Regions from separate parts of the Homo sapiens genome. Here region 2 is linked to region 1. Evidence: promoter capture Hi-C in human tissues and cell types (Jung and others, 2019). All regions are on one chromosome and are shown on one strand. Each heading gives the region's core, a stretch centred on a gene start or on the middle of the fragment in contact. The rest is flanking DNA. Distances are from core to core; before and after follow the strand shown.

Region 1 (4,968 bases), core at 614-3,113:
AGAGTGGTCAGTATAAATTTAAAAAGCAGAGAAAAGTGGAATGGAAGATTTTCGTTGGGTAAAGAGGTAAAAAACAAAATTGTTCTTCAGATAATTTTAATTTAAGTCAATAACATTAAATAACAGTAATAACTAAGCCTATCCCGGGAGATAACTTTGCATTTAGTGGTTAAACAATCCCTGCAATTATCTAGAGTCAAAGAAAATAAATACTTTAGATGAATCTACAAAGAGACAACAAACAGGTGGGTATGAAATATCTCTTTTGCCACACCTGCCAATGAGAAAGTTACTCCATTCTCTTTACTTCTATCTATTCAGCTCTAAAATGGGGATAAGTTTTTTTCTCTTTTTTTTTTTTTTTTTTTTTTTTTTTTTTTTAGATAGAGTCTCACTCTGTCACCCAGGCTGGAGTGCAGTGGCGCGATCTCAGCTCACTGAAACCTCCCCCTACCAGGTTCACGCCATTCTCCTGTAGCTAGGACTACAGGGGCCCGCCACCAAGCCCGGCTAATTTTTTTTTATATTTTTAGTAGAGATGGGGTTTCACTGTGTTAGCCAGGATGGTCTTGATCTCCTGACCTTGTGATCTGCCCGCCTCGGCCTCCCAAAGTGCTGGGATTACAGGCATGAGCCACCATGACCGGCCAATTTTTTTTTTCTTTTTCTTGAAAAAGATGTCACCCAGGCTGGAGTGCAGTGGCACAATCTCGGCTCACTGCAACCTCTGCCTCCCGGGTTTAAGCGATTCTCCCACCTCACCCTCCCAAGTAGCTGGGATTACAGGTGTGCACCACCATGGCCCCTGGCTGGTTTTTTTGTATTTTTAATAGAGACGGGGTTTCACCATATTGGCCAGGCTGGTCTTGAACTCCTGACCTCAAATGATCCACCTGTCTCAGCTTCCCAAAGTGGTGGGATTACAGGAAAATGGGGAAAATTTTAACACATCATGCATTCATTCTGAGGCTCATTTGAGATGATGTACGTTAAAAACTTGGCACAGTGATTGCTCTATGCTAAACGGCTAATAAATGCTACTTAATTATGGTTATTTAGATTATAAATTATTTATGTAGAGTTGTGATATGAACTACATAGAACAAGTTTGACAGTAAATGATTTTCATACGCAAATAATCAACCCATAAATGATGCACGGTTTTCTGCTCTGTTCATGCTCGGTTTTCTATTCTATTGAAGCAGTGATAACATGGGTTACGTTGAGACATTGTTAGGTTAACATAAATTGGGAAGAAAGCTAAAAAGATAAATACTGGATACTAATGAAAAGAAAATCAGGATGGTAATTCCAGATTGAAAAAGTGTATTAGGAAAACAGAAAATAAGTTCCTGCATGAAAATCAAAAAGCAAGATCTATAACAGCATCATCTTGATGAGAGACCACAGGAGTTCATAGGATGAATTTTACATTATTTTAATTTTCATGCATTAAATGCAGAAAAGGAAGTTGAAAATACTAGATCCAGAGGGTACTGGGGGTGGGAGGGTCAGTCTTCAGATAAATCACATCAGAAACTTTTAATATAAGATAATCTTCATCCAGCCCCGAGCTCAGAGCATACGGGGTTCAGAATTGGTGAATCCCGATGTCACAGGATAGAGGATGAGTCTCCCACGGTGTCCTCAATAGTAGTAGCCAGAGCCGCATCCATAGCCACAGCCACAGAAGAAGCGGGAGCCGTAGCCATGACCATAGCCACAGCAGGAGCTATAGCCACAGCGCAGGCTTCCATAGCCATAGCCTAGGCCTTCGTATCCACAGCACCCATAGCCATGGTCGCCGTAGTAGTTTCCGTAGTAGCTGCCGCACATCGTGATGGTTGTGGAGGTTGTCCTTGGGTAGGAAGGAGTGTAGGTGACTTCAGTATGGATACTTCCTGTAGAAGTCCTTTTATATGCCTCAGGATGGGAATGATCCAGCAGAGGTAGCATACCACTGGCTAATTTTTTGACTAATATAATTAGTTTGTTTTTTCTCAATTGTAAGATAATGCTGCAGAGGTATTAAGGAGGCTTGTTTTGTTTGGCCTTGCAATTTGGGCTCCCCTTATCTGATTGAGGGCTCTGATGAAAGGAGACCTCACACACTCACACTCATATAATCCTGCCTCAAACTAGACTTTCTATAGCCATCCTTTACATCAAGAAAGACTTTTGTTAGTTACACTCTTATTTGCTCTAGGCCCCAATTAATTGTACTCTTTTGCACAACATTCAGCAAACAATAACTTTGCCCTTTTAGTATTTCTGCTCTCTTTATCCAAATAATACTTTTTTCAGGGATTTAGTGTCTTTTCTATACTAAAGCCATGATGTTGATAATAATTCAACTAATTAAAAATTCTAGAAAACCAGATCTGAGAAAAATTTGTTGTATTTTTCTACTTATACCAGTGAGTCTAATTTTCCTTTATGTTCAACCTCTACGGAAGAACAAGAAAATGTAAGTTATTTTCTTGATTTATAAAAGAATTAATAAGTGACCAAGTCAATGAAATGGAACAATAGTTTTATATTCTCTTTTAACTTCTTATCTTAAAATAATCTCAGGCATAGAGATAGTTGTCAAAATAGTATAGAAAATTTCCATATATCCATCATTCAACATCCCTAATATTAATATCTTTCATAACCATAATCCACTTATCACACCAAAGAAATTAACTGTGTACAGTATTCTTAACTAAACTGCAGACTTTATTTTACCATTTTTCTGTTATTATTAACTTATTTTATTTTAAGTTCTAGGACCATGGTTCATTGTAGCACTATTCACATATTTATTTTAATGTTCTTTTTTTCTGTTCTTGGATCCAATTCACATTGCATTTGGTTTTTATACTTCTTAGTCACCTCCAATTGCTCATGGTTCATTCGTCTTTTCTTGGCTTTTATGACCTTACAATTTTAGAGAGCCAGATATTTTGTGGAATATTCCCCAATTGAATCTGTCTAAGGTTTCCTCATATGTAGATTGAGGTTATACATTTGGGAAGAGATGTAACTCTTGTCTTGTGCCATCTCAGGGAGTCATGATGCCAATAAATCTTTGAGTAATTCTGGAATTGTTTTAAAATTCAGATTTTTAATAGAAGTCCTTTTCTTACTATATACCCAGAATCAACGAAGTCAAAAATCAAAGTCTTTGCCACGGTTTAGAATCATATATAAAATGATAGCTACATGTGAAGTATAAACCAAAGAGAATGATATTGCTCCACAAAAAGTGATGAAACACCTTATCACTCAACATTTTACAAGTGAATGCTGCCACCATGACTTCTCTTACACGCTTATCATCCTTCCTTATCACTTTGGAGCTACACTCTTATTCCCAAGTCTGCATATATGTATTTAGGCTGAAGGATATTATTGGGTGAAAGTAGGATTTTTAAAAAATGGAAGCCATCACGTCCATAACCCCAGGCTTTGGGAGGCCGAGGCGGGCGGATCTTGAGGTCAGGAGATCAAGACCATCCTGGCCAACATGGCGAAACCCCATCTCTACTAAAAATACAAAAATTAGCTGGGCGTGGTGGCACGCACCAGCTATTCATAAGGCTGAGGCAGAGAATCCAGGAGAATCACTTGAAACCAGGAGGTGGAGGTTGCAGTGAGATTGTGCCACTGCACTCCAGCCAGGCAACAGAGCTAGTCTCTGTCTCACAACAACAACAACAACAACAACAACAAGTGGAAGCCATGTGGGTTACTCTTGGTTGCTGGTAATGTAGTTTAAATTTGACATCTGAAATAAACGAGTCATCAAAATAGGAGATGGATCTCTTATTAAAGGTACATTATTTCATTATATTCAACATTCCTGAGAAACAGCAAAGTTGTCTTGGATGTATTGGTTACAAGGAATATTTTAGATGGTTTCAATGCTAATTAGTGTGGAATGTGAATCTAACAGTGCCTGTGATTTGTCCCACATACCATTCATGTGGCATTTAAGGCCCTTATTATAAGCTTAAAACTTTAAACTTAAAACTCTATAAACTTAAAACTCTAGAATCTGATCCTGCTATACAACTGAGCCTACCTTTCTTGAAACCATGAGCTTTGATAACAACTACCATGGTGGCCAGGGCTATGCCAAAGGAGGCCTGGGCTGCAGCTATGGCTGTGGTCTTAGCGGCTATGGCTATGCCTGCTACTGCCCATGGTGTTATGAAAGATCTTGGTTTTCTGGCTGCTTCTGAGAAATTAGAGATTGCTGATCTGTTTAGGCCATTCTCTTATGAGCTATGTTTTCTTCCCGTGTTTTTTTCTGTTCAAAGAGTGACAACTAAAATTTAGCCCACATTGCCAAGTCAGAATTTATTTGATCAATTAGCTGGAATTTCCAACAATTTAATCAAACGAAAAAAGAACCTTTGATGTTGTGTTACTAGTATATGATTAAGTACAAATAATGTTAAGCATTTTCATTTGGGAAAAAGTCTAAATTTATTTTTCTTCAAAGGTAATTTATTTTGCAAACCTACAGCATTTTCCTACCTATATTTATTTATCTAGAGTACCTATATTATTTGTGATTGTGTGTGTGTGTTCAGGAGCACATATGTAAGGTTGCTGACCCATTGGAAACTTACAGTTGATGATGTGGATGTGTTAGGTCTGACCAATAGTACTTTGATAAAATGTATTCTCATGGGCAGAGCCAAGTGGTACTATAATTTACTTTGATCTATCAAAGCCTCATCTTCAGTGTATCCAATGTTTGACTAAAATCATTGGCAAAAATAGTACCTCCCTTCTCATCACTTTATTCTGTTGCACATACATTACATTTCTTGATACTTAGTTGCATTTTTGGCTCTAGATAGCTGTAACTTTTTCTCTAAATCCTATATTATGGCTGTTTCTTTTAACTCTGAAAAAATATACTCTTGAACTCATCCTATGCCTGGTGGCTGCATAGACAGCACTTCCAAGTGT
Region 2 (4,837 bases), core at 1,620-4,119, 73 kb before region 1:
TGTTTCATTTCTAATATTAGTCATTTTTTTCTTAATGTTTTTTCTTGTCTGGCCTGACCAGAGGCCTAGCAATTATTGATCTTTTCCAAGAAACAGCTTTTGGATTTGTTGATTTTTTCCTATTGTTATTCTGTTTACAAGTTTAGTGATATCTGCTTTAGGGTTAAATTGTTCTTTTTCTAGTTTACTAAGGTAGACTGAAGTTATTGATTGTAAGGTTTATTTTTTTTCTTTTTTGATAAATACATATAATGCTTTACATTTCTAAGTACTACTTTTGCTACATCCACATTTTAACAAGTTCCACTGTCTTTTTTCATTTGTTTCAATGTATCTTTTTTCACGCGCACTTGATACTTTAAAAAATTTGTGTGCTATTTATAAATGTGCTGCTTTACTTTTCAAACATGTGGGAATGTATCTTTCCATTATTGATTTCTAGTTTATTTATTCTGTAATCTAAGAACATACTTTGTGTGTTTTCTATTCTTTTAAAATTGTTAAGATATATTTTATGGCCCACAATGTTACCTATCTTGATGAATGTTCTGAGTAAGCTTGAGAAAAAATGTTTTCTGCTTTTGTTGGATGGAATGCTTTAAAAATGTGAATTATAGCAAATTGATGATGTGTACTCTTCACACCATCTGTATTAGTCTGTTCTCATGCCACTAATAAGGACATACCTGAGACCGGGTAATTTATAAAGGAAAGAAGTTCAATAGACTCACTGTTCCCCAGGGCTGGGGAGGCCCTAGGAAACATACAACCATGGCAGAAGGGGAAGCAAACATGTCCTTCTTCACATGGTGGCAGTAAGGAGAAGTGCAGAGTAAAGGCAGGGAAAAGACCCTTATAAAACCGTCAGATGTGATGAGAACTCACTCACTATCATGTGAATATCATGCAGGTAGCCACCCCCAGGATTCAATTACCTTCCACTGGGTCCCTCCTACAACACATGAGGATTATGGGAACTACAGGTCAAGATGAGATTTGGGTGGGGACACAGCCAAACAATATCACCATCTGTATCTTTACTGACTTCCTGCTATCTCAAGCTATCAATTATTGACAGAAGGGTACTGAAGTCTCCAATTACAATATTGAATTTGCCGATTTCTCCTTTCACTTTAATCAATTTTTGCCTTATATGTTTTTACACTCTTACGTTAAGTATATACAGTTTAAAATTGTTATACTTTTTTAAAGAATTGATCCTTTAACCTTTATTTAATGCTTTTTTTTCTCTTGATAACTTTCCTTGTCCTGAAGTTTCTTTACTTGAAATTAATATAGGAACCTCAGCTTTTTTTTTTTGATTAATGTTTTCATGGAATTTTTTTTAATTCTTTTACCGCAACCTGAATCTTGGTAGTCAGAGTGTGTTTTTCTTTTATAGTCACCATGTAGTTGGGTCCTGAGTGTATAAAGTTTTTTTTTTTTTTTAACCCATGCTGGCAAGCTTAGTTTTATAATTGCTTTATTTATATCATTTACATTTAAGGTGATTATTAATATAGTTAGATTGATATCTGTTATGTTTGTGACTATTTTCCACTCATAGCGTTAGGTCTTTATTTCTATTTTCCTATGTTTTCTTCCTTTTCTGGTATTAAATGTATAATTTATATGATTGAATTTTATCTGCCCTCTTGAAAGGTATATCAATTATACTTATTTCTATTTTTATTTTTAGTGTTTCCCCTGGAGTTTACAATATATGTTCTTAACTAATATAAGTTCACCTTCAAATAATAGCATAGCAATTCACATTTACTACATGTACCTACTAATAGAATATCCCAAATTTCTTTCACCTCTCTTTATAACGTTTCACTTATCTATATTCTCTTTTAACTAATACCTTGTGACTATTTTTGCCTTAACTGAACAGTTATGTTAAAGCAATTAAGGATAGAAAAATTAAACAATTTACCTTCTTTCATTTCTTCTCCGTTCATTTCTTCTGTTGCTCCTCGTTTGTTTACATAGATCCAAGGTTTTTAACCATCTTCCTATGACTGAAAATCTTTTTCTTAACATTTCTTGCAGGGAAGGCTACTGATACTTCATTTCTTTGTTTATTGTTGCTGTTGTTGTTGTTTGTCTGAGAAAGCATTTATTCCCTTTCCACATTTATTCCCTAGCCATCCAGAACAGCCTAGGATTTGTTACTGATTCCCCTAGACACAAGAGTTCCTTCCATGCTTTATTCCCATGATTAATGTGACCCTGGGGTATAAAACTCAGAGTGGGCTGCTTTGGGGGGATCCCTCAGCTGTAGTACAAGTGGGGTGCATACAGTGAAGACTCTATCTTCTCCAGGCAGCTTTTCTGAGACTTGGGGGATGAACTTACAATGAACCCTAGGCTTCCATTGTCCCTTGCTCCCTATCTGTAAGTAACAGGTCTGTTTCATGTAACCTATTGCATATATAATATTCTGTCTCACCAGGAAAGGATGCAGAAGTTACCTTTCACTTGCACAACCAAGCAAACAAATGACTATGGGAGAAATGCAAAATCCACATGGAAAACATCAAAACATCACCCTCTTCTTATATAATGAAGATTTTTAGGAACTCAATGTTGTACCTAATTCAGAATAAATGTCATCAGTCGTGACAAAAAAAAAAAGGCTCTCTGAAAAAAGTCTAATTTGTAGCATTTGCTGATCTCTGTAGTATAAATACTCCCATCACGTTCTCTTTCAACTTAGCAATGTGACGCCTCTAAACACAGAGCTGGAAAGAGATGCTCAAAATTGCCTTTTGTGAGCTGGTATGAAGTGGCCCCAGCAAACCAATGAAAAAAAAATGTACATGAAGGGAAATGCCAAACTTACTGGAATTTGAAATGTCTAAATTATTTAGTTTCCATGAATATCATAATAATGGAAGTCTGCTCTTAGCAACAAACCACATTAACTAAACAATGTGTCCTCTTAAAACTTTGATCACCTTCAAAGATAAGGAATAATAGGTATAAAGTACATATTTTCATAGGGAAAATTTTTTAAATGAGAGTATTTTTTTAAATGTAAAACTCAAATGCATTGGAATGAATTAAAAAATGATGTCAGGCTTTATAGGCTTATGAAGAAAATTTACTAGAAAGTGTCTCCGGAAATATCACATAAGAATGAAGTCAGTGGCATTTTATTATTGTAGCAGAGAAGACAATACCTAGCTTGAGTGATGAAATTCTAAGTCAGAAAAGTAGGTCCACACTGAAACAAATGTGCCTTTTGCATGGTGAGATCTTCATTAAGAAAAGCCCTCAGAAAAATATCACTGGTGATACTGAAGGGCATAAAACCTTCTATCAGGGAAAGAATCCTAAAATTTTGAGTTCTAATGTGATGATCAATTTTTTTTCTTTTCAGTAGAATCCAGAGGACCAATAACTTCTATGGAAAGAGGAGCATGGTTTTAGATTCCCATAAGCAAATTTTATTAGGGAATATGTGCGGAAATATCATCAAAGGGATAAAGAAGAAAAGCTTCATGCTAATAACACAGTGGGAATGTGGATACCTCGACTAGACTGGTGCTAAGATTCCAGCTAAGGGAAACAAATCCCTGCAGATTTGGAGAATTGGTCTCCATTAGGATGTCTTCAGGGGCTCATGACTGGCTCTGAAATATGTCACTGATAACAGTGAAGAAAACAAAAGAACGAAGATGAAAATAATATAAAAGCTCTGAATTTATTTGCAATAGACTATATTTTCAAAAGGAGTGAAGATTACCAATATCCTTCATAGAAAGAGGGATAAGAATGGTCACAGCCATAACCACCATCAAGCCCATAGCTAGATCCATAGCCATAGTCCAGACTACCAAAACCACCAAGGCCATAGCCATGTCCACTGTAGTCCTTGCTGTACTAGTAGCTCATTATGTTGGGGGTTGAAGATTGGTTTGATGTTGAAGTTGAATTTCCTAAGAATAAATATCACCACCCACGCCTAGACTTTTATATTCTCTCGGGGGTGGGGGGGCACTACATAGATATTTCTCATTTTTGTTTCTTTCACTAATGTGCAAAACAGCCCAAGTATATTCTTGTTTTGTGATTTGAGAAGTTTTTTGTTTTTTTTTTTTTTTTTTTTGAGATAGAGTCTCGCTCTGTCACGCAGGCTGGAGTGCAGCAGCGCAATCTCGGCTCACTGCAATCTCCGCCTCCCGGGTTCACACCATTCTCCTGCCTCAGCCTCCCGAGTAGCTGGGACTACAGGTACCCGCCACCACGCCCAGCTAATTTTTTGTATTTTTAGTAGAGACAGGGTTTCACCGTATTAGCCGGGATGGTCTCGATCTCCTGACCTCATGATCCGCTGGCCTCGGCCTCCCAAAGTGATTACAGGCGTGAGCCATCGCGCCCGGCCAATTTGAGAAGTTTTAATGCTACTCATGTATAATTATATTTACTTATTTGCTTTCTCTGAACTTCTTAGTGTCAGCTCTTACAATAAAAGGTAATGACTGCCAATTCTTCAAAGCTTATGACTGTGCTTAACATAGCCTAACTAGATTACTTGATGCAATCTGACCTCTTGCATCATATCTAATTTTGTTAGTCCTTGTCTCTCATTCTCTCCTTTTATCAAGAACCACCGCTCTCCTCCTAATCCAGAAATTACAGTTTCCTACTTATTAATTGGCATGAGTTTGAAGGTGTTAGAGCACACTAGTTGAGAGCCCAGTATATGCAGCAATGCCTGTTGTTATTTCAAAGTCCTGTTTCTACCCACTTGAGTGAGATTCTCAATCTTTTAAAATATCCATTTTCATACATGTGCAAAGACAATAATAATTTACATCTCTGTTTT

Evidence for each region. Contacts are between HindIII fragments. The study calls those that stand out against the background at their distance.
Region 2: a fragment that was not itself captured here is called in contact with the fragment with the promoter of KRTAP6-2 in region 1 in 2 of the 25 tissues and cell types used here (dorsolateral prefrontal cortex and pancreas).

The regions. Positions count from the first base shown.
Region 1 is chr21:30,597,039-30,602,006 of GRCh38, forward strand. KRTAP6-2 (keratin associated protein 6-2) reads right to left here and starts at 1,864. Exons shown (of 1, transcript NM_181604.2): 1 at 1,552-1,864. The coding sequence starts at 1,836. The coding sequence ends at 1,648. KRTAP22-1 (keratin associated protein 22-1) reads left to right here and starts at 4,049. Exons shown (of 1, transcript NM_181620.2): 1 at 4,049-4,344. The coding sequence starts at 4,083. The coding sequence ends at 4,229. The HindIII fragment of the contact is 6,207 bases long and covers 1-4,968 here.
Region 2 is chr21:30,522,799-30,527,635 of GRCh38, forward strand. No RefSeq gene overlaps it. Among named protein-coding and RNA genes, the nearest start is that of KRTAP19-6, 17 kb to the right of the region's middle. The HindIII fragment of the contact is 3,717 bases long and covers 1,012-4,728 here.